Regions from separate parts of the Homo sapiens genome. Here all the other regions are linked to region 1. Evidence: promoter capture Hi-C in 16 types of primary human blood cells and fetal thymus (Javierre and others, 2016). All regions are on one chromosome and are shown on one strand. Each heading gives the region's core, a stretch centred on a gene start or on the middle of the fragment in contact. The rest is flanking DNA. Distances are from core to core; before and after follow the strand shown. Region 1 holds the start of SP9 (Sp9 transcription factor). Region 2 has its middle 6.3 kb from the start of CDCA7. Region 3 overlaps CDCA7 (cell division cycle associated 7). Region 4 overlaps LOC105373744 (a long non-coding RNA gene). Region 5 has its middle 96 kb from the start of CDCA7.

Region 1 (4,845 bases), core at 1,452-3,951:
GACGAAAAAAATCTGGACTTCCTCCGAAAGATTTCCTTGGGGCCCCACCTTAGAGTTGAAGTGGCCCGGGTGTTTGCCTGCGTTCGTTTGGAAGATTTCCCTAACTTTTATTGTGATGCAGACGCGTGTATCTAAAGGAATATGCGAGTGCCCACGTCTAGAGTCTGACAGCTGGAACTACGGGGAAAACGGCGGGAGGGGGAGGGGAGGGGATCCGAGGGGAGGAGGAGAAGAGGAAGGCGAGCAGGGCGCCGGAGCCCGAGGTGTCTGCGAGAACTGTTTTAAATGGTTGGCTTGAAAATGTCACTAGTGCTAAGTGGCTTTTCGGATTGTCTTATTTATTACTTTGTCAGGTTTCCTTAAGGAGAGGGTGTGTTGGGGGTGGGGGAGGAGGTGGACTGGGGAAACCTCTGCGTTTCTCCTCCTCGGCTGCACAGGGTGAGTAGGAAACGCCTCGCTGCCACTTAACAATCCCTCTATTAGTAAATCTACGCGGAGACTCTATGGGAAGCCGAGAACCAGTGTCTTCTTCCAGGGCAGAAGTCACCTGTTGGGAACGGCCCCCGGGTCCCCCTGCTGGGCTTTCCGGCTCTTCTAGGCGGCCTGATTTCTCCTCAGCCCTCCACCCAGCGTCCCTCAGGGACTTTTCACACCTCCCCACCCCCATTTCCACTACAGTCTCCCAGGGCACAGCACTTCATTGACAGCCACACGAGCCTTCTCGTTCTCTTCTCCTCTGTTCCTTCTCTTTCTCTTCTCCTCTGTTCCTTCTCTTTCTCTGTCATAATTTCCTTGGTGCTTTCGCCACCTTAAACAAAAAAGAGAAAAAAATAAAATAAAAAAAACCCATTCTGAGCCAAAGTATTTTAAGATGAATCCAAGAAAGCGACCCACATAGCCCTCCCCACCCACGGAGTGCGCCAAGACGCACCCAGGCTCCATCACAGGGCCGAGAGCAGCGCCACTCTGGTCGTACTTTTGGGTCAAGAGATCTTGCAAAAGAGGAGAGAAAACACGGGAGGCACAGTTCCACATCCTTGTCACTTGCACCGGCTCCGCGACAACTCGTCGTTTGCACCCGAGGGTTTGGGGTTGGTAGTTTAATTTTTTTTTTTTCCTAAGAAGCAGGGTGTGGGTTTAGTGGGGAGTGTGCTATATTAAAACCAGTGCCCAGGTCTGCCCGAGGGCGCTGGTATTTCTGGTTCAAAAACAGCTTCTGGCTACCCTGGAGAAGAAAGAGAAAGCGGGGCCCAGAAAGAGAAAAACAAGCAGGTCAGCGGTTGCTGGGGGACTCGAAGACGCACCCTGGTCTGCTTGAGGACGCCTCTTTTCACACTGACAAGGTCCAGGGAGGACTTCAGGATGCTTCCAGCCTGCAAAATGTGGAAGCGCCCACGTGTGGCCTGGTCCTCCGCCCTCCCGGGTGAAAGTCCTGGAGAGATTTCTCGGGCGCGTCCGTGAAAGCAGGGCACTAATGGGGAGCCTACCTCTTAAAACAGCGCACTTGCCCTACGGACGAGCCTCTAGGCCCTGGTGGTCTGGAATGGGAGTGGGTTGGAGCTGGGACAAGAAAACTCCACTCCAGGATGAAACGCGACATGCAAATCTTCACCGGGTTAAACAAACAGCCGAGCAAGCTGCAGCTTCAGCGGAGGTGGAGGTGGGGGCGGACGCCGCTCGCGCCGGTCTCTGTTTCCAAAGTTGTTACAGTGAGAAAATAAGCGGCTTCGTGCAGCGTGTTGTATGGGCTGATGCCTCCCACCCCCATGCCAGCCCACAGCAAAACCCGGCAGATAATCAGCACATCCCACTGTTTAGTCATATTTGACAACTGGGTTAACCTGGTATCTAAGCGCTGGCGAAACCGTACAAAGGGTGCCCTCAATTACCACCAGAAGCCTCTAGCGTGAGTGGCACTTGTATTACCCCCCGGGTCAGAGGCCAGAGCGACAATTAGGAAGTCACTTACACCGCTGGGGGGAAATGGCGGGATGCAGCAGGCTCCAGGCCCTCCCAACAAATCTGTGGATGTAGATCTGTACAGAGAGGCCTATTTCGCTCCTCTCGGAGGAGCTGTCCCTTCGCGCCCCCTCCCCAGTATAACTGTGAGAGTGAAATTGAATCTAGTGGAATAAGGAATTGGGTAGAAGACACACGAAAATGATAAAAATCACAAGCAAGAATGATAGATACAAGCTGAAGTTGTGTTCTGTAGGCAAAAGCCTGGACACACAAAGTGAGGGCTCACATTTCCGTCTCCACTTGGGCCCTGCTGGTGCGGGCTGTGTCTGGGTGTCTCCTCCCCTCCTGCCTCCTTTCCTACAAGTGGGGAGTCGAGTAGGACTGTCAGCCCTAACTTGCAACATCTCGGGGTGGTTTGTGTGTGGGGGGGTGCTTGTGGCTCGGTTTCATTGGTACTTAAACCTGGCTTGGTGCGTGAGTGTAAATTTTTAATTGCACTGTAATTTCTTCAGTCCCCAGCCCGCCCTCGCCCCCCCCCCGCAAGTATCCCCCACTACTCCCCCCCACCCCCGCGGCCCTAGCTAGCTGACTTGACTGGCACGCGCCGGGAGCCCGGGCTCGGGCCCCTCGGAGCGTCTGATTGGCTGCGGGGCAGCTCCGGTCTGCTCTGCCTGCGCCCTCATTGGGCGAGAGGCGCAGCCAGCGGCACTTCAAAGCGGGTGCTCCTCGCACTTAGGCTGAGTTTAGCCGGCGGGAGCCTGGAGTCCGCTCGGCACGAGCGCGGGGACGCGGGAGCCGCGCGGGACCCAAGCAGTTTTTCCGAGCAGCCGCCAGGCTCAGCCCCGCTCCCAGCCTCGCTGCGCAGCCAGAGACCTGCTATGGCCACGTCTATACTCGGGGTAAGTCGCAAGCGCGGCAACGCATTTGCTTGTTTTAACCGGAGTAATTTTTCGTTATGGCTTCTGGGGTCTGCGGCTCCGGAGAAACTGTTGCTGCTAGACTGCAGCTTCAGCTTCTATTAGCACTTTCCACATTTCTGGGACTGATTTTTCCCCAAGTTTTTGGAACCCAGAAAGATGCCTTTGCAAGAAAAGGCCTTCTTAATCAAGTCCTTTTTCATTTGGTTTCAAAAAAAAGCTAGAGGTTTCTTTTCTTCCCCTCGTGATTTATACCCCATCCCCCGCATTGCTTTGGGGATTTTGTTGCAATTATGCGACAATGGTGTTTCCAGAAAACAGTCTTAATCGTTTTGCAGTCCATCTAGTCACGCTAATAAACATTTACATTTCCGCGGCTCCCCAATTCGCCCATGACTTTGAAATCTGTCTCTGGCCGCTTATCCTCGGATTATTGTTTTCATAATCGCTGTTTTTGTGTGTATGTAAACTTTAAAACCAAACGTTTTCTATTAAAAAAGAAAAGTCAAGTCGTAGCCACCCTGGGAGAGCTGCAAGTTTCGCCCGTCCCTGGCAGCTGTTTCGGCCGCCTCCGCCCTCACCCGGTGTTTGTTGTCTCTGGTCTCTGTGTTTACCTTCGCGCTTCACCCCGAAGGGCGACTTGGGGTCTTCTGGGAGATGAGCCGGTTTACGGCGACAACCCAAGTCCGGTTGTAGGCAGGGTTGCAGCGGGGAACACGGAGGCATCTTTGATTTATAGCCTCAGCGAAGTGCAACTTTCCGGCGCCTGGACCTTCGCCCGGGTGATCGCCCCTGCTCCGCGCCCGGTGCGGCGACTCCTCCGCGGGCGCGTGGGGAGGAGGCGCGAGGCGGGGAGCCAGGACCCCCCGGGAGCAGCCGCAGGGGACGAGGCTGCTCACGGGTGCACTTTGTTTCTTCCCCCACTTCCTCTTGCCCTCCTCCTTCTTGCTCCCTCCCCCATCCCACCCACTCTAGGAAGAGCCGCGCTTCGGAACGACCCCGTTGGCCATGCTGGCGGCGACCTGCAACAAGATCGGCAACACGAGCCCGCTGACGACGCTGCCAGAGTCGAGCGCCTTCGCCAAAGGCGGCTTTCACCCCTGGAAGCGCTCCTCGTCCAGCTGCAACCTCGGCTCCAGCCTCTCGGGCTTCGCGGTGGCCACCGGGGGCCGTGGCTCGGGCGGCCTGGCGGGCGGCTCGGGCGCCGCCAACAGCGCCTTCTGCCTGGCCTCCACGTCGCCCACGTCGTCCGCCTTCAGCAGCGACTACGGCGGCCTCTTCTCCAACTCGGCGGCTGCCGCGGCGGCAGCGGCCGGGGTGTCCCCGCAGGAGGCGGGTGGCCAGTCGGCCTTCATTTCCAAGGTGCACACGACGGCAGCCGACGGGCTGTACCCGCGCGTGGGCATGGCGCACCCGTACGAGTCCTGGTACAAGTCGGGCTTCCATTCGACGCTGGCGGCCGGCGAGGTGACCAACGGCGCGGCGTCGTCGTGGTGGGACGTGCACAGCAGCCCGGGCTCGTGGCTGGAAGTGCAGAACCCCGCTGGGGGGCTCCAGAGCTCGCTGCACTCGGGCGCCCCCCAGGCCTCGCTGCACTCGCAGCTGGGCACCTACAACCCCGACTTCAGCTCGCTCACGCACTCCGCCTTCAGCTCCACGGGCCTCGGCTCCTCCGCCGCCGCCGCCTCCCACCTGCTCTCCACCAGCCAGCACCTGCTGGCCCAGGACGGCTTCAAGCCGGTGTTGCCCTCCTATTCGGACTCCAGCGCCGCCGTGGCAGCCGCCGCCGCCAGCGCCATGATATCGGGCGCCGCGGCTGCCGCCGCCGGGGGGAGCTCGGCACGCTCTGCCCGCCGCTACTCGGGCCGCGCCACCTGCGACTGCCCCAACTGCCAGGAGGCGGAGCGGCTGGGCCCGGCCGGGGCGAGCCTGCGGCGCAAGGGCCTGCACAGCTGCCACATTCCGG
Region 2 (4,845 bases), core at 1,100-3,599, 990 kb before region 1:
CCAACCCCAGCCAATGGGGGAAAGACACAGAGGTAGAATCTGCATTACGAATAAAAATCCCTACTCTACTTTGTTCTGTGTGCTCTTGTGATCGTGACTGACACAGGCAGCACCCTTCTGCCAAAGTAAATTTGCCTTGCTGAGAAATCCTTTGTCTCAGTGCTGGTTCTTCTTCGCGGCAACTGACCTCAAGTAATCCACCCACCTCAGCCTCCCAGGCTGAGTGCCAGGATTACAGGTGTGAGCCACTGTGCCTGGCCTGTTTCTATGAATTTGCCTATTCCAAGTACCTCATATGAGTGAAATAAGGCAATATTTATCCTTTTGTGCTTGGCTTATTTCACTCAGCATAATATTTTTAAGTTTTATCCATGTTCAAAGGATCGAAATTTTATTTTATTATTTTATTTTATTTTTTTTAGACAGGGTCTCGCTCTGTCTCCAAGGTTGGACTTGGAGTGTAGTGGTGCTATCTCAGCTCATTGCAACCTCTGCCTTCTGGGTTTAAGTGGTTCTCTTGCCTCAGCCTCCTGAGTAGCTGGGATTACAGATGCCTGCCACCACGCCCAGCTAATTTTTTGTATTTTTAGTAGAGATGGGGTTTCACCATGTTGGCCAGGCTGGTCTGGAACTCTTGACCTCAGGTGATCCGCCCACCTCAGCCTCCCAAAGTGTTGGGATTACAGGCGTGAGCCACTGGGCCTGGCCCTGTGTTTAACTTTTGAGGCCTGCTGGGGGACTAATTTTGAATTCTAGGTTGATAGGACAATGTGCAGATTAGCCTCTTCCCTGGGACCCCCTACCAATATCTTGCATTGGTTTACTTCAGAAATTAAACCACCTACAAATGAGCCCTAAGTCTCCATTTAGTTAATAAAGTTCTTCTCTCTGCAGCAATTCTCTTTCCAAAGAGTTGCTTGAAAGGAACAGATCTGAAGAAGACATAAATGATTTATATAATTCACAACTAGGACAATTTAGAATAAGTTGCCTAAGTGATGAACAAAGACATTTAACACCTTTTATGGGTGTTTCCAGAGAAAAAAATGATCAAATTAAAAACAATGAAAAATTCTTACATAAAAACAGACAAAAACTTTGCCAAATGGAAAAAAGAAATTATGGAAAGGTGAACAAGTGACAGGGAAACTGTGGATGGTAAGAAGTAAGCTGAGTTAGGTTTTGGCTGTAATTCAGCTTCCATAGTGTTGGAACTGACTGATTCAGTAATCAAAGCTTGACTTTCCCTTGTGCAAAGTGTTTAATGATGTTTTAACACTAGCAGTTAATATATTTCACAATAGACAATGTTCATCCACGGAAAAACAAATATTTCTTCTTGCCAAAAAAAGGTCAGATTTGCACTCATTTTTCCATATTCCTTTTTCTAATCAGGTGTCAGATGTCAGCAAACTGATCTACTTAAAACAGTGTTGACATACAATGCAAAACAAACATACCAATATGGCTTGGAGAGCCAGCATTTGTGAACCAAACAGCCAGGGTGATAATGGGCTGGGCCCTCCAACAGAGCAGCTTTTGACAATTGAAGCCTAACGTTAGGCCTTTTAGCTATATTGCCTTTATGCATCCTGAAAGCAGGCACTGGAGACGTAAATCTGTAATTAGGGGTTATTTAAAACAGAGATTTGTGACCTGACAGACTGCAAACTGTCTATATCCACAAACACAGTGAAATTGCTCCAGCCCTTTGTCTCCAGGGGTATCTGGTCTATTGAAGGTCTCTGGTTTACAGGGGCGCTTGGGTTCATGTTATACCGCCTGAGAGATGGGTGCATGGGACCGAGAGCAGCACATGAAACATTAGCATTGTTTCTAAATCTCATCTAAAAATGATACATGCTATTAGCGGTTGCATTCTTTGTCCGAAAACCAGTCATTCTGAGTTGAAGTTTAACTTACCTCATTATGTAAGTGCTCTGAACCTCACAGTCAAGTTTCAAACTTAATAATAGGAAATGGAATTCTTTGTGCAAGGTGAATAAAAGGTATAGAGAAACACAGAATTCTTAGGGTTTGTAGTAGCCCAGGGAATTCAAAGCTCTTTAACAAGAGATTGATATTTTAGAATATTTTGAAGATTTAAAATTCCAGGGCTGGGGATGGTGGCTCATGCTTGTAATCCCAGCACTTTGAGGGGCCAGGGCAGGCGGATTGCTTGAGCCCAGGAGTTCGAGACCAGTCTGAGCAACATGACGAAACCCCCATCTCTACAAAAAATAGAAAAATTAGCCAGATGTGGTGGCCTACATCTGTGGCCCCAGCTACTTGGGAGGCTGATGTAGGTGGATTGCTGGAGCGCAGGAAGTTGAGGCTGCAGTGAGCCATGGCTTGAGCACTGCACTCCAGCCTGAGTGAGAGTGAGACCCTGTCTCAAAAAAGAAAAAATGTAAAAATAAAATAAAATTCCACCTACAACCACTTTAGTTGGAAAAATAGCTAATGCATGCAGGACTTAATACTTAGGTGATGGGTTGCTAGGTGCAGCAAACCACCCATGGCACAGATTTTCCTGTGTAACAAACCTGCACATCACATCCTGCACATTTACCCTGGAACTTAAAAAATAATTAAATTAAATTATACAAATAATACTTATAAATATAATAAGTATTTACTGAGTACCTGTTGTATTAACAGCCCTCATATCAAGTAGTGTCTGTGTAAGTATGTACTTATAAAATGTCATTTCCTTTTACCTTTTGCTGTGGCCTGTGCCATCATCTTTCCCTGGACACTGATTTTCCATGCTTATTCATTTTGTGTCTTTCATTTAAAATGAAAATATTTACCAGTGTGTGATTAATACAGTGACTTAAAACCTTTATGAGGCATCTAAAATTGCATGACAAACTTGCATTCCTATTTATAGGACCCTGTAAAGGAACTGTATATTTAACACAATAAATATATTGATATTGATTGTCAGAACAAACTCTCCAAAACTTAAATATTTTAAAATTATTAAATGTTTCAGATTAAAAAAAAAAAAGAAAAAAAAAAGCACAGAAAGTAAACATGTAAAAGACACCCATGTACTAATCACTGGCATTTGTCACATTTAACAATTTGCCATATTTGCTTCCCATGGTTTTTATTTTTCAAGAAAGCATTGTTAAAGCACTGACCTTAGACAAATTAAATTTAGCAGTTTAATGGAGCAAAGAATGTTTGCAAATCGGGGATCCCCTGAACCAGAGTAGGTTCAGAGAGGCTCCAGAGCAGCTGCATGGTGGAAAAAGATTTATGGACAGAAAAAGTGAGGTACAGAAAACAGAAGTGAATTACACCAACAGCTGGATTGGTTACAGCTCAGGGTTTGCCTTATTTGAACACAGCTTGAACAGTTGGTCACCCTTGACTGGCCAAAACATGGTGGTTGGTACAAGAGTAAGTTAGTCTGTTTATATACCCAGTTGGGTTACAGTTCATTGTGTATGGAGAAGCTTTAGGCTGAACTTAAAATATGTAAGGAGGCGGCTTTAGGCTAAACTTAATTTAACAGCATTAATGATAGCTGGGTGCAGTTATGTACACCCATAGTCCCAGCTATGTGGGAGGCTGAAGTGGGAGGATCACTTGAGGCCAGAAGTTGGAGGCTGTAATGTGCTATGATCACACCACTGCACTCCAGCCTGGGCAACATAGCAAGACCCAGCCTTTTTTTAAAAAAAAAAAAAGAAAAAGAAAAGAAGAAAGCATTAATAATAGAATCAAAGGACCCACCCTTGCCTCTTTCCTCCATCTTTTCCACCTTAAGTTAATTTCTGTGCTATTCTGCTTGTCTAGGTTTTTATACTCTCCCAACTTAGGTATGTTTTGTGTTTCTAAAATTTGCATAAAGGGTACACTTTACAGACACTTTTACTATTTGCTTTTTCATTGAACACTGTTAAGATTTCTCTACAATGATGCCAGTAAGCTATGCCATTAATTTGAACTACTGTTCAGATTCCATTGTACAAATACACCACTGTTCATGTATCCATTTCCCTTCTGAGGGGCATGTTGACTGCAGTATTTTACTATGATACATAATGCTAATATGAATGAACCATCCATCCCTCAAGTCCAGTTAGCTCTAACTTTTATAATAATCATATATCTTAAATCTGACTTCATCTGACCCCACAACTATCCCAGTCCAAGCCATCATTTGCTTCTCCAGGAGCCCATAGGTCTCCCAGCTTTCACTCTTGGCTCTCCTTCAGTTTACGACCCACACAGTTCATGGGGTCGGATTGGGTCTTTCTTTTTCTCAGAATCCTTCAATGACTTCCCATCATATCTGGAATAAATCCAAAGTTCTTCCCATGGCCAAGAAGGTCCCACATGATCTGGGCTCTCTCCCTCTTTGCCTGGCTTTCTGTAGTGTGCCTTGCTGTGCACTGCCTTACAGCCTTTGGGCCAGCTGTGTACTGTGCCTGAAACCAGCACTTTCCTCTTCTTCCTGTAGCTTCCTTCCTGACTTTGTTCATGTTCCTCCTCAGGTGTCACCTTCTCAGAGAAGCCTTTTCTGTTTCTCTTATTTAAATTTGTACCTCTTTCATTTTCTCTCCCCTTGTCCTGTCTTTAGCTTTCACCTTGCTTTTATTTTTCTTCACGGAAGTTAGCACACCTGAAACTATTTTTTTGTTGTTGTTTACTTCTGCTCTCCTACTAGAATGTAAACTCCTGGAATCACAAATTTCTCAATAGTATGTAGAATGATGAATCCGTTTCAGAAGGTTTTCAATGGACTCTGTTCAGATCCATCAGAGGAATCACTATCTATGGCAGCTACAGACTTATGAAATGTATTTCTTTTTTTTTTTTTTTTTTTGA
Region 3 (4,845 bases), core at 2,110-4,609, 970 kb before region 1:
TTTTATTGCAGAATATTCTGTTGTGTGAATCAGCCACATTTGATTTACCCATTCATCAGTTGATGGATAAGTGGGTTGTTTGCACTTTTTTGGCTATTATGAATAATGCTACTGTGAACATTCATGTACAAGTTTTTGTGTAGTTTTTGTGTATACTCTTAGGTATATACATAGGAATAGAATTGTGGGTCATGTAGTAACTGTTTAACCTTTTGAGAAATAGACAAAGTGGCTACACCAGTTTACATTCCTACCAGCAGTGTGTGAGGGTTACAGTTTCTCCAAATTTTTGCTAATACTTTTTTTTATTTTCCTTTTGCTTTTTTTTTTTTTTTTTGAGACAGAGTCTCACTCTGTCACCCAGGCTGGCGTACAGTGGCATAATTTTGGCTCACCACAACCTCCGCCTCCTGGGTTCAAGCGATTCTTGTGTCTCAGCATCTGAGTAGCTGGGACTACAGGCATGTGCCACCACACCTGGCTAATTTTTTATATTTTTAGTAGAGACGGGGTTTTGCCATCTTGGCCAGACTGGTCTCGAACTCCTGACCTCAGGTGATCTGCCCATCTCAGCCTCCCAAAGAGCTGGGATTACAGATGTGAGCCACCATACCCAGCCTTCTTTTGCTTTTTAGCTCTACTATGAAGTGGTGTCTCACTATGTTTTGTGTTTTTTTTTATTTTTATTTTTCGGAGACGGAGTCTTGCTCTGTAGCCCAGGCTGGAGTGCAGTGGTGTGGTCTCAGTGATCTCTGCTCACTGCAACCTCCGCTTCCTGGGTTCAAGCGATTCTCTTGCCTCAGCCTCCCAAGTAGCTGGGATTACAGGCGTGTGCCACTGTGCCTGGCTAATTTTTGTATTTTTAGTAGAAACGGGATTTCACCATGTTGGCCAGACTGGTGTCAAACTCCTGACGTCAGGTGATCCGCCTGCCCCGGCCTTCCAAAGTGCTGGGATTATAGGCATGAGCTACCGCACCCAGCCTTGCATTGTGATTTTGATTTACATTACCCTATGGCTAATTTGGATAAATTTTTAATGATGAAAACCTATATTACTTTTGGAATCTGGAAATATTTTCATTTTGAACTTCTAAAAGTAGATTAGAGAAGTACCTAGAGAAGTCAAATGTATAGACAGAAAATAGGATGATGGTTGCCAGGGGCGGAGGGAAAGAGGGAATGAGGAATTACTGTTTAATGGGTATGGATGGAGTTTTAGTTGGAGAAGATGAAAACATTCTGGAGATGGATGGTGGTGATGGCTGCACAACAATGTGCATGTATTTAATGCCATTGACTTGTATACTTAGAAATGGTTAAAATGATAAATCTTATGTATATTATATTATATATTTTTTAAAGTAGAGAATTGAGATCTGTTAATATAATTTAATATTGCCATAAACATTGAAGCCATATTTATAGGGGAACACATTTTTTTCCCTTTTTTTTTTTTTCAAGACAGGGTCTGGCTCTGTAACCCAGCCCTGGCATACAGTGGCACGAACACGGCTCACTGAGCCTCTGCCCCCTGGGCTCAAGCCATCCACCCACCTCAGCCTTCCAAGTAGCTGGGACCACAGGCATGCGCCACCATGCCCAGCTAATTTTTGTATTTTTTTTTGCAGAGACGGGGTTTCACCATGTTGCCCAGGCTGGTCTCGAACTCCTAGGCTCAAGTGATTCACCCGCCTCAGCCTCCCAAAGTGCTGGGATTACAGATGTGAGCCACTGCACCCAGCCAGGAGAACACATTTGTTCTTGTCAGAATTCTTTTAAAATACATAAAGATCTGTTTCTAAAGAAATGAAAAGCAGGTGGTAGGAATTTTAACATTTTAAAAAAAGGCTCAGAACCACAGGCCTAGGGACTATGAAAATAGCTTATAACAGTGTGGTCCAGATGGGCTACATGGAATTAAACTGCACTCTGTTGATGTACTCTTTGTGGTTCCTGATTTTGTTACCCAGAGGTATCAATGTTCAGTTAAAATTCATTTCATACAAGTGTCTCATTGAAAAGGGACTTTGTAGTTATACTGATGCAGCTTGTCTGCTGATCAAGTCCTAATGACTCAATTGTTGTGATTAGAGGCTGCAGTCAGTTCGGGAAGGCTGTAGGACCCGCAGCCAGTGCAGGCACTCTGGACCTCTCAGGGTGGCGATGAAGTTTCCAGCGCGGAGTACCAGGGGAGCAACCAACAAAAAAGCAGAGTCCCGCCAGCCCTCAGAGAATTCTGTGACTGATTCCAACTCCGATTCAGAAGATGAAAGTGGAATGAATTTTTTGGAGAAAAGGGCTTTAAATATAAAGCAAAACAAAGCAATGGTAGGTATCTGACTTTGTGTTAGAATTAATTTTTCCTCTCTAAGCGACTCATTACTTAAATCTGTTCCATCACGCAAAAGTTATTTTTTTCTGTTACATGAATAAAAAGTTATTTTTGTTTACCTGTGAAGTCTTCAATGTGTGCCTCAAAATGTGTTTCTTTCCCTGAACTACTTTTTTTAAATCTGTTAAAGGCCTGGTTAAGTGTATAGGGGAAATCAGAAACTCTGAATGTGTCAGCTTACTATCAAATATAAAACCATGAGATGTACTTGAGTATTTTCCAGAAGTTAGTTGCTCATTTTCGACAGTTATTCTAAGCCAATGATATCAGTTTAATTTCCTCCCTTTTTAGCTTGCAAAACTCATGTCTGAATTAGAAAGCTTCCCTGGCTCGTTCCGTGGAAGACATCCCCTCCCAGGCTCCGACTCAGTAAGTACCAGTTCTTGTTTATATACAGTAGTGTTTTGGGCACACCTAAGGTCGATCTGTGTTGTATTTAAAAATCTAATTTCTTTATTTGTGTGGCCTTCTAGACAAACGAAGGGGACCTAGAGGAAACCCCCTGACAGATCTCTGGATGATCCTCCTTGAATCCTGGGCAGTTTGGTCTCTCCTTGCTGTGCTCCTGTGGCACTAAACTCCTTTTGATTGGTTCTTTCTTTCCTTCCCAGCTAGACTAAGCCCCTCATGGGCAGGTAATGAAGATTGAAAACTTTTTTCTGTTCTCCAGTGTGAGCACATTCCTCCTACATGGTAGATGTGCAATAGATGTTTTTAAAATTGGAGAATGAAAATAAAAGAAGAAAATCACAATTTCTTATCAAGTTGTAGCTTGGTATCATACACAATTGCATTCTGAGGAATTAAGGTGGTACAACTTAGGGAGATTTGGTGTGTCTGCTGTGATAGAAAAGATTTCTTTTTCCTGGCTTTCCCTGAGGAAAGGAAAGATGGAAAGAGGGAAGCCATACAGATATCCCTCTATTTTGCAGTGTAGAAACTGAATGTGTTTCTACAGGGTCAAGAGACATCAGAGAAAATTTTTTTTTTTAGAACAGAAGATCATTTCTTACATCTTCATTAAGTAAAAGAATAAATAGCTCATCTCTCAAGTTGAAAGAAACTGGGCTTGGTATTACAAAAGCAAAATTAAGATGGCCATATAGGTTTTAGGCTCATTTTGCCATGCATTATGCAAAGGACAAAGAAAAAGAAAAAATAGAGCTCTCTTTACTTAAAACATCCTTAAGGAGAAGCTATGAATTCCCCAAAGTACTACTTCTCTTTATTATGGAATAAATGGATTCCCTTATACGTGCTTTGTTTAGCAATCAAGGAGACCGCGAAGGCGTACATTCCCGGGTGTTGCTTCCAGGAGAAACCCTGAACGGAGAGCTCGTCCTCTTACCAGGTCAAGGTCCCGGATCCTCGGGTCCCTTGACGCTCTACCCATGGAGGAGGAGGAGGAAGAGGATAAGTACATGTTGGTGAGAAAGAGGAAGACCGTGGATGGCTACATGAATGTGAGTTCTCCGCATTGGTACTTGCTCTTCTGATTCTCATCTTCGGTAGGCCTGGCATCATACACAGCACAGGTACACGCACATCCTTAACACCAGGCGATCCATAGTAAATGTTTTCCTCTAACCATTCAGAACTGTAAACGTCACATAAGCTTACTTGGTAATTTTATTAGCAGGCGAGAATTGGGTTTTCTTCATCTCTTCTTAATTGTAGGCATCGTTTCCAAAATGTCCAGTTAGGCTACAGTAAGCGTATGGCCTGTTCCCCTACCATAAGCTCTAGGAGAGATTTCCAGGTTGAAGTTTGTGTGAAGAAATTACAAGTCAAGTATCTGAGATTCAAAGCTGGGGAGAGCCAGTTTTGAATCTCTGTGTTTCATATTTGAATCTGTTTTTTCAGTTTTGAATCTCTTTCAGTTTTTCAGTTTTGAAGTTCTGTGTTTTGTATTCCTTGTAATGCAGGAAGATGACCTGCCCAGAAGCCGTCGCTCCAGATCATCCGTGACCCTTCCGCATATAATTCGCCCAGTGGAAGAAATTACAGAGGAGGAGTTGGAGAACGTCTGCAGCAATTCTCGAGAGAAGATATATAACCGTTCACTGGTGAGAGCCTCTAAATTACACCTGAGAATGTAAACATCTGTGAGAGGAAGAGAGCTTCTGTCCCTAAGCGTTGCCCAGGTTCTAAAGGGCCTAGCATGTGAAATCTGTACCTATATGTTTTTTTCACACAAGGAAGGAAAAGTTTTACAGTATCCCTGGGATTTAGCCCTCTTTCACAGTGGAATTATCTGCTTAGTAAGTCTGTAGTCATGGTAAATCTTTTCTCCTAATTTAGAAATCAATTCATTCAACATATATTTACTGCATATCTATTATGTGTGTATACATAGCTAGGTGCTGGAGTGTGGTGGTACACCAAAGATAAAAGTGGATTTGGGTAGGTTATTTTTTAATAAGACCTTTTCTTAAAGGGAAAGCGGTTTTA
Region 4 (4,845 bases), core at 1,588-4,087, 900 kb before region 1:
CATTTTAAAATCTTTTGACATGTCCTGACAAACACCGTTCCCCATAGCCTTCAATCTGGGCAGCTTTTATAGCTTTCCTCATAGCCATTATTCCATCAATAGGTAACATTGACAGACTTCAGCGAATGGAATCCTCCAGCCCTTTACCCTGATCCTTTCTCCGAGTTACATATTTTGTGGTTTCAAGACCATCTTGAAATCATTGAGAAACAAAGACACAGGAAAAGTTTTTTAAAGCGAGGAAAAGTAGAAAAACCTTTAGAGGTCTTCACAGGGATAGCATAGAAACCATGTAGTTGATATTTTGTCTTTTTATTTATTTTATTTATTTTTTAAAAGTGCTTCCTTTTTAATGAAATAAATTCAAAAGATGTACAGTCAGGCTCAAGTAGTGCAGTTCACAAGCATGGGAGAAACAAACAAAACAACGAAGTTCAGGATGGTCAGAGCAGAGTTAACCCAGGATGAGGCTGCACTTGCCACCAGGGGGATTTCCTATGGATGGTCCTGGGGCCAGGGCCACGGGGCTCAGCACAGGTGCAGCAGGTGCAGGCTTCTCTTCCCTCGGCCCCAGGCTGCCTTGCAAGTCTGTGTCCACATTTTCATGAATGTCACCTTCTCCCTTCAGATCTAAGAATCTGCAGAGTTTGCTTCAGAAGCGTTCCTTCCCTGCAGTCCGGATGACTCCAAGTCTTCTCCGCCACCTCTAGACTTGGCACCTGCCAATGTGGCCCAAGAAGGTGGATTTTCTTCAGGTGTCCCAAAGATACTAGAGGACATTTTGTTCTTTCTCACAGGTTGTTCTGTTGGTTCATCAAAACCCAATGAAAAATTGGATCCACCACCCAGCAGCCGCAAAACCCGGGAGCTATTCCTGCTGTTGGGGTTAACACCCTTGAAGGTAGTGGTGGTGGTCATGGCGCAGAGGAGCAAGTTAGGCTGGCGTGGAAGCAGAATGCTGACAAGGTCGGACCGAGGGGCACAGGGAGGCTCCATACCCCACAGACTGGCCCCCGCTGGGGGAGTCTCCTGCCCACGTTAGCTTTTCAAATGCTATTTGGAATATGTTTATTATGTCTCTTTAAATGTTATTTCGAAATGATACTTATTACTACCTAAGATGTAAATAACTCATCCTAGGTCAAAAACGGCATGGTTAGTGGGCTTCAAACATAATCTCTTCTGTACGGCTTTTTAAATATGGGACACCATGGCTATTCAGTTAGGTCCCTTGCTGGTGAGTCAGGCAGCCAATACCATCAGAAGCTGACCACATACGTGCCCCCCATGGAAGCTTCTGTAGCACAACCATGTGAGGCAAGCCTTGGACACGACGTCCCTGTGCCCAGTTGACTCACAGCTCCACTTATCTCTGCATGAGATCAAAATACAAATGCCAAAATTTCACTTCCCCAATTTTCTATTTTTGCTAATTGCCTCCACCTTGTTCTTTTTCTTTATATCCTATGCATGTTTGACATTTTAAAAAGGTGTTTTTAGCTCTGAATTTAAGCAAACTGGCCCACAGATCTCCCCAGTGAGTAGCAGACTCTGAGTTAATATTCACGGTGTCCTAAATGTTAACACTGCTTGGTTTTGCCTTGTTGCCTTTGCCTTGGCCCCAGCTAGTTTTAAATTGTGTTTACACAATTTTACAGAGTTACTTGCGTTTTTTCTTTAATGAGTCATGATATCTAGTATCAAGTTCAGTTTGGTCGGCTGTTTCACTACTATTCTGTACATAAGACAGTTAAATTATAATGTTAATTTAAAAGACAGAGAATCTATAGTAGGTATATATTTGAACAGGAGAACATTTTTCTGCCAGACCTGAGGACCTTCTGGGCTTTATCTTCTAGAATATCTTCTTTTGTAAAGAAGAGAAAATAAATCTCTGGAACTACTGGGGAACATCTTTCATTCTGGTTTTTTAAAATGTTTGCTTCTTTAATCCCCTGTGATTGAGAAGGCATAGAGGACTGCCAACTGAAGTGGAGGGGACCAATCACAAGGTGTACAGCATGCTTACTTCAAAACGGCTCTGAGAAACAAGGCAACGATTCCTTATCAACACTGACATAATAAAGGCAGTTGGCTCCAAGTATACGTGGGAGTAAAGGACTGTCCTTTATATGTTGATCACTACTATTTGTATTGTCATTCTTGGCTGTGAAGACTATTAATAGACATTTCTGTCAAGATGATATTTTCTTAGAGCCTTTTCTATTTTCTTATTCAACAGAAAAATAGACGAGGGGCTGGGCATGGTGGCTCACGCCTATAATCTCAGCATTTTGGGAGGCCAAGGCGGGTGGATTACCTGAGGTCAGGAGTTTGAGACCAATCTGGCCAACATGGTGAAACCCCATCTCTACTAAAAATACAAAAATTAGCCAGGTGTGGTGGCGGGCGCCTGTAATCCCAGCTACTCTGGAGGCTGAGGCAGGAGAATCACTTGAACCTGGGAGGCGGAGGCAGCAGTGAGCCGAGGTCGTACCGTTGCTCTCCAGCATGGGCAACTAGACCAAAATTCCATCTCAAAAAAAAAAAAAAAAAAGGAAAGAAAAATAGATGAGCAATGTTGGTATATCCCAAATGTTCCCAATTCATCACTCTGGTGTTCATATCACACTCATCTGAGACCCCATGTTGTCTGTCCAGCCTTGTAATTTCCACATCTGTCTCCTGCTTGTTTATTGCCTGATCCAGTTGTCCAGTCCTGGACCACAACCCTGCTCTTCCCCCTGTCGCAGCTGGTGTCCGGCTCTGTCCCTCTTTGTCCTGCTTCCTCCTGAATGTGGTGGACACAGACACTTCCCACAGTCCCCCTGTGGAAGTTGATAACAGGCTGTAATTTTTGAGGGTTTGGGAGTAGCAGAAGTGAATTAAACCCCAGGGACCAGAACTGCAGGCAGGACTGCTCTCAGCATCTGGCTCTCCATCATCACAGGGATACCCACCTGAGTACCATTCTTTCTAGACTGTCAGCAGCCATTCTTCCCCTTACACGTAGCACGGTTATGTTTCCCGCCCTGGGGTCCAGAGCCCATCTCTTACAGATCAGGAGAAATGAAAAGATTCTTCAACCAGATTTGCCTCCTCATTCCCTGCATAAGAATTGCTCTCTTCCCAAGATTATGGTTACTTGAGTTACATTTATTTCTTTTAGCAGAGCCCCATCCCTGGAACCTTCCTCTTTGTCATCTAAAAGATGCTAGAATTCAATGGTTTGATGTCATATATTTCCCAAAGTTTGGGTTAGTTGCTCAGGTTGGAATTTTTTGTCAAAGGGTCAAGGTTGGGATTCGGCAATCCTAGTCTTCCAGTGTGAGGGCACTTCCAGAGAGGACAACAGGGCCTGTCTGGAGTCTGTGTTGTCTAAACCCAGATTTAGTAAGGGAACATTTTTCCTAAGGAAAACCTAATTTGCAGAAGCATAGGTCCCATTAAAAGCCTTACCCAACTGACATTGCTGAAAAAGACACTTAACTTCCCAGTTAGAATTATTTGCATTCTGGTCTTTCCCAGAAAGAGGAGAACATGCTATACATTTGCACATCTCTGAGTGATGGGTCTGGAAGTGGGTACCGGCAGGGCTAGACAAGAGGCTTATCTCCCACTACACTATAGCAATGATTTCCCAAATGCAAGCCAAAAAAGGTTCTGTGACTCAAATTAATATGAAAACTACTGAGATAACAAGATGTTTTTCAACTCAAATAGGCCTAAAGGACTTTATTTTGCTCTGTACATTATATGTCTCTGAGAAGGGGATGATATTATGAGTTTCTTAAACTTTCTGACCATTTAACTCTCTCTCTCCTCCACAGAGAATTACTCTTCTAAAATTCTAGTCAAGATTGGATGGATAAAGACCCATTTGCCTTCCTTGGTTAAGGACACTTAGTTTACAACCCAAAGATAAAAATAATTACCATGACTATACTTAGAATTATATTTCTAGCCTGCCCAAGGGGATAGAGAGAAATCCCAGAAATCCTGTGACCTGGCAGCATTTGCAGCCTGAAACAATCTGTTCTATTCCAGATGGTTTTGCCCTGTGAGCCCATGCAGCATGGCCTACTGCAGCCTCTATGGTCTCTGCTTTCCTTCCTTGTTCTTTCGCTCGCTCCATTCTTTCTCAACTTGAGAGGTTCAGGCAAGATCCCTTAATTTCTGTACATGTCCGTTAGGGGAGTTTTCCCCTCTCTTTCCTATTACTTCAGATGCTGAGAGCAGTCCTGCCTGCAGTTCCAGTCCCTGGGGTTTAATCCACTTCTGCTGCTTCCAAACACTCAAAAGTTACAGCCTGTTCTCAACTTCCACAAGGGGAATGTGGGAAGTGTTCTGCATTTACTGCATTAAAAAATAGGTTCTCCATAAGCTTTTTGAGGGACAACTCTGTCACTATTCAGACTTGAGAAGATTTCAGTTTTTTTTGGTGAGGCAATAGTGTGACGTCTGGTTTCTGGGAATAATTACACAGAGTAATATATTAGTAGTCAATGATTCATTTATGCAAAATATAAAAATACAGACATTGTCATGTTACAAATGTTAATATTTAATACCTCCTTCAGTATTTCTGCAATCATCCATCATTCTTAGTTGATGAATCTTCTATTTTTTCCATAAACTTTCTTTCTTGGTGAAAGGTACTTGTTTTGCCGTATAGCTCAAGTTAATTCTATATCAAGAAGGCATATGCTACCCAAAGTGCTGTTTCTAACTGCAGATGCCTTTCTTTAACCTTTTGGAGATCTGTAGAATGACTTATCTTCAAGAAATGTGAATGCAGAAGTAATGCAAGAGAACCTATCTATGTTAACTGAAAAGTTAGGGTGT
Region 5 (4,845 bases), core at 1,377-3,876, 880 kb before region 1:
TTGCATTAAAAGGGTGACTTTAGTGCTCACTTTGGCAGCACATATATTAAAATTGGAATGATACAGAGATCAGCAATTTCAGTTAAATAAGAAAAAAATTTTTTTAAAAGGCTGACTTTAAAACCAGAGTTCAGACATTAAAACCCAAGGTTCAGGGAGCTGAGAGTGGGTGATCCCTGTATAGAGGCCAGTTCTTAGTAGGAATTACATGGCTCTGTGTGGTCCCACTGTCAGGCAAGCTTCACCCAATTTGCTCACTGAAAAGACAAACTAACACGATCATTTTGGTTTTGAATCTGAATTTTGTAGCAACAACATATACTATCAAGACTCAACTTTTGCTAGCACAATAATCTTATTTTATTTTACTTTAAGTTCCGGGACACACGTGCAGAATATGCAGGTTTGCTACACAGGTAAATAGGTAGCACAATAGTCTTAGAAATAGAAACTAAAATAAGTAAATGAAATAAAAGCTCTTTACAAAATATTATGGAAAATATCGCAAATCACAAAGGCCAGAATAAAAACAACCTCTAATTATACTACCCAGAGTTAACCACTGTTAACGTTTTGGCTTTTTGTTTCAGTCTTTTTTTTCCTCTCTTCTACATAAACATGTTTATTAGTCATAGGCCAATCAGGAGACAGAAACCACACAGTAATTTGAACAGGGAAAATTTATTATAAATAATTGTTAACTATAACGTAGGCCTAACTAGGAAGGTGAAAACAATGCTCTAAACAATATCCTAGGGCTGAGGATGAAAATCGGGAGGAACCACTTTGAAGGAGGTCCTTTTCCCCACGACGGATTCAGACAGTGAGGGAAAAGAGATTCTCAGCTCCATTGAATGGTGGAGCTCTCCTGGCTGCCTGAGACAGAACTGGTGCATGGTTGCAGGGAAAAGGGGGAACATATGTCTGCAGGGCAGGTCCTCAGAGACAGCCAGGGCACAAAGAGTCATCTTGTTGGCAGGACAGATAGAGGCCCGGGGTGAGTGGTGTCTCTGTTGGGGGTCACCGGCTGGGGCTCTCTGAGAACTTGCAGAGAAACTGCATGCTCTGGGTGTGTGGCAGGGGCAGAGGCTTCTGGCAGTGGTGCGCTAGGAGCAAGTAGAAAAACAACGGCCGTCCGACGGACGTCCGGGAACCTTGGGCGGGGCTCGTGGGGTAGCTTCTTCCTCCTGCAGTGTCTCTCCTGCGCCCTCTACCGACAAGCTAAACCTCATTCTCGCTGCAAAGGAAAAAATGCTTGAAGGGTCCAGCCTATGAAAGCAAAACAGGTCATGAAAGTAGATTTGGAGGTGAGAGGCAATGTACTACTAAACTGAGATCACAACATGTATCTTATTTTGTAAACTGTTTTATTTACTTCAAAATATACTCAAAACATTTTCTCATATGATGAAAAATATTCTTCTACTATATATATATATATATGTATATTTATTTTTTTCTTTTTCTTTTTTTGAGACGGAGTCTCGCTCTGTCGCCCAGGCTGGAGTGCAGTGGCGGGATCTCGGCTCACTGCAAGCTCCGCCTGCCGGGTTGACGCCATTCTCCTGCCTCAGCCTCCCAAGTAGCTGGGACTACAGGCGTCTGCCACCACGCCCGGCTAATTTTTTTGTATTTTTTAGTAGAGACGGGGTTTCACCGTGTTAGCCAGGATGGTCTCGATCTCCTGATCTCGTGATCCGCCCACCTCGGCCTCCCAAAGTGCTGGGATTGCAGGCGTGAGCCACCGTGCCCGGCCTACAATATAATTTTTAACAGGTGTATGATAATTTATATAATGGATGACCCTAACTTTTTTAGCCAGTATTCAGTTTTGGGCCATTGAGGTTATTTCCACTTTATAGCTATTATAAACAGTGCTGTAACAAATATTCTAGTGGTGAATGCTTGCCATATTTGTATTTCCTTAGGATAAAGTCCTAGCAATGGGATTCCTGGATTGAAGAACATATATACTCTTAATATTTTTATTCATGTTCTGAGATTTCCCCGCCAAAAGACAGCAGTATATTTTAAAGCAACGAGTCTTAGTAACATCTCTACATTTTATTTTTAAAATTTGTACTAATTTTACAAGCATACTAATTAAATGAATTTCATGATGGTAATAAAATAGTCTTGGAGAAAACAATTCTCAAAACAACATTTAATAATGAATTATACCAAAGAATTATTTAAAATGATAATGAAGTGGCTATTAGTACAATACCAAAGAGAGAGAAATGAACAGAACTTACAAATGCAGACACTGATTATTCCAAAATAAATTTTAAACTGTAAACACAGAGCTTATTGTAACAGACCATTTTTTTACAGGAACAGTTAATAGTTTGCTTTAAAATAATTATCTTTTTAAAAAATCGTAGTAATTAGATTTATTCTTAACTCAGAAAAATGCAGTAGAAAAAATACTAGAAAGAAAAACAGAATGAAATGAGAAAGGAAAAGAGGGAAGGAAGGAAGGACAAGAAGACAGGAAGATTTTTCCGAAAGAGGCAGGAAGGAGAGTGTATTGAAGAAAAGAAGAAAAACTAGAAGGAAAGAAAATATGAAAGAGTATATGAATAGAGCAGAAGCAAAAAAAAAAGAAAAAAAAAAGGGAAAAGAAACATTTTAAAGCAAATTCCACCTCCAGAATGGTAATATTTAATGGGCTAACTATCAAAACATTTTTAAGTACTAAGAACACACAACTTAAGAAAGAAAGACATACTTGTAGGAAATAAGCCTTAATTGTCCAATTTGCCAGAGAAGCAGAGATGGCAGTGTTTCTGTGACACTTACGTGGTTGGCTTCTGTCATCATGGAAGTAAGTACAGAAGCACATGCATTTCCACATGGCTACAGAATCCCCAACGCTTCGGTTTGCTATAGGATGCCTCCAAATAAATGGCACAAGTATTTCCACAAAGAAGGTTTGGAGTAGACACATTGAGCATTTCCACCATGGGGTGGTAGAATTTACTTGACGGGTTAGTTATGGCAATGTGGTTTCTCAACAGGCTGCATGGGGGTCTGGCTTGCAAAGGAGCTCGCATATAAAGTGAAAGCTGCTCAGGAGAGCCAGGTCTCCCCACAGGCGTCCTGTGTTCACAGTCCTCGTAAATGTTCTCTGGAGGCCACAGATTCATTATGTCGGAAAAGGTAGAGCAACAGACAGAAAATGCTGGCAGAGGTCCAGCCCTCTGTGGGCTTCGAGTGTGGTATTGCCTAGAGTTTGTTCCTACAGGTATTTTTGCATAAAGACCTCTGTCTGAGGAAGTGAGTCTAAGACAGCAGAGCTCAGGACGGTCTTTTAGAGTATTGGGTGCCCACGACTCTTTTGAAAGAAGTCCATTGATACTCCTCTACTATTTCCCCCGATCTATTTGAGAGCCAGCAAACTGATTTGATAAAACAGTGATAGATTTGTCAGATTAAGATAGTAATTTGCTTCCATTAATTTGAGAGGCATCAGTGTCTCACAGTGAGAAGAAATATGGCCACCCTGGTGGGATACATTTAAATTCATTAAATTTTCTGGCTTTCATCTGAGACACTGAGACTTTTTCTTCTCAGCCCATAAATCCTTTCAGTTTTTACTTCAAATGGCACCAAACAAGCACTCATCAATTTATATTTTAAATTCTCCTAACAATATCCAGTTGGATAAATCTGTTTAATTAGCAGTGGGTTGATGCTTTCTTGGCCCACTCTACGTCCAGTTACCAAAATAAAAGAAAGGCATGGAAAGCTGCTGGTTGCAAAAAAACATGCCTCCTACAATGGCAGGGAACAAGAAGAGACATTCTCCCAACACATGTTAACCCAGGGAAAAAATTTGAATATATACAAAAGATGAAATTAACAATAGATGAATGGCAAATGAGAAAGCTGCCAGTGACCAGACTTTCTCAGGAGCCAACCTTTAACAATATGGATTATTTCGGATAATTCATGGTTTGCCACTCTTTATCCTTTGTCTCCTCTGTAATATCCAGGGCACATCTTAGACAGATAATTAGGGCATTATCATATTCCTTAACTAAGTCGGACAAATTGCATTGCGCTTCGTGGAAAACCAACCTAGGGCTCTGTCATTAGCATTGTCTAATTGTTCCAAATAAAGTCTTTGCTTTTTTTTATTGCATCAACTTTATTTGTCAATACTCAGGAAAGAGCGGCTGTTCCCTTTCCTGTAGGGTTTCGTGAATATGCTAGTCACTAGGTAATCTTACAGTTAATACAGGCCGCAGCATGGTAAAATGTAAGAAAATGTAAAGGTCAAAAACATGTTTCTATTATGAAAAAAATGAATGATAATGACATAATTTTTTCAGCTCATCAGGCTCTTTGCTAAGTGCTGCTGTTATTGCCAGATCAGTAGTGTATAACAAAGAAGTGCTTTCTGCAGCCTGCTTCATTAGTCTGCCCTGTAGGACCTCACCTCCAGACCTTTCACTAATCTGTTGGCGCGCTCAATAGTCTTGTTAGTTCTATTCACTTCTTCCTGACAGCGGATTTTCTCAGCTGTAGCCCTCCCAGAGGCCGTGGTTAAAGCAGCCAGGTTTGTGTCTAGTTCCTTTAAATAAAAACAGTGAGAGACAACTTTGGACATTGTCGGAACAAGTAAAAATATCGCCGCAGACTTATTTTATATTGCAGAAACTTAAATTATACAGTATGCCCAGAAGTAAACACAATTGCGTTCAGGAGACTGTGCCAATTCACACAATGAGAAGGTGCAGTAGGGAAAATGTGAAGAAAAGGATATTCGACAGTTTATGTAATTTTTGTTGTTTGTTCAAAACAGCACCGAGGTGGGAAAAAGAACATACAGACAAATTC

The links. The method cuts DNA at HindIII sites, captures the fragments that hold promoters and counts their contacts. A CHiCAGO score of 5 or more calls a contact.
Region 2: a fragment that was not itself captured here is called in contact with the fragment with the promoter of SP9 in region 1 in 2 of 17 cell types (total B cells and fetal thymus); the score reaches 10.8 in total B cells.
Region 3: a fragment that was not itself captured here is called in contact with the fragment with the promoter of SP9 in region 1 in 3 of 17 cell types (fetal thymus, total B cells and monocytes); the score reaches 7.3 in fetal thymus.
Region 4: a fragment that was not itself captured here is called in contact with the fragment with the promoter of SP9 in region 1 in 1 of 17 cell types (activated CD4 T cells); the score reaches 5.5 in activated CD4 T cells.
Region 5: a fragment that was not itself captured here is called in contact with the fragment with the promoter of SP9 in region 1 in 3 of 17 cell types (neutrophils, total CD4 T cells and monocytes); the score reaches 6.0 in neutrophils.

The regions. Positions count from the first base shown.
Region 1 is chr2:174,332,253-174,337,097 of GRCh38, forward strand. It overlaps SP9 (Sp9 transcription factor), which reads left to right and starts at 2,702. Exons shown (of 2, transcript NM_001145250.2): 1 at 2,702-2,861; 2 at 3,855-4,845. The coding sequence starts at 2,841. It overlaps LOC102724194 (a long non-coding RNA gene), which reads right to left and starts at 2,724. Exons shown (of 3, transcript XR_427194.5): 1 at 1,488-2,724; 2 at 1,305-1,373; 3 at 742-808. RefSeq lists an enhancer at 1-134 and a silencer at 4,634-4,843. The HindIII fragment of the contact is 13,141 bases long and covers 1-4,845 here.
Region 2 is chr2:173,346,133-173,350,977 of GRCh38, forward strand. No RefSeq gene overlaps it. Among named protein-coding and RNA genes, the nearest start is that of CDCA7, 6.3 kb to the right of the region's middle. The HindIII fragment of the contact is 2,231 bases long and covers 1,235-3,465 here.
Region 3 is chr2:173,361,133-173,365,977 of GRCh38, forward strand. It overlaps CDCA7 (cell division cycle associated 7), which reads left to right. Exons shown (of 10, transcript NM_031942.5): 4 at 2,094-2,330; 5 at 2,686-2,763; 6 at 3,663-3,857; 7 at 4,320-4,460. Among named protein-coding and RNA genes, the nearest start is that of CDCA7, 8.7 kb to the left of the region's middle. The HindIII fragment of the contact is 1,295 bases long and covers 2,713-4,007 here.
Region 4 is chr2:173,430,895-173,435,739 of GRCh38, forward strand. LOC105373744 (a long non-coding RNA gene) reads right to left here. Exons shown (of 4, transcript XR_923586.2): 4 at 4,581-4,845. It also overlaps the pseudogene JPT1P1. Among named protein-coding and RNA genes, the nearest start is that of CDCA7, 78 kb to the left of the region's middle. The HindIII fragment of the contact is 3,090 bases long and covers 1,293-4,382 here.
Region 5 is chr2:173,448,169-173,453,013 of GRCh38, forward strand. No RefSeq gene overlaps it. Among named protein-coding and RNA genes, the nearest start is that of CDCA7, 96 kb to the left of the region's middle. RefSeq lists an enhancer at 3,093-3,162. The HindIII fragment of the contact is 4,778 bases long and covers 238-4,845 here.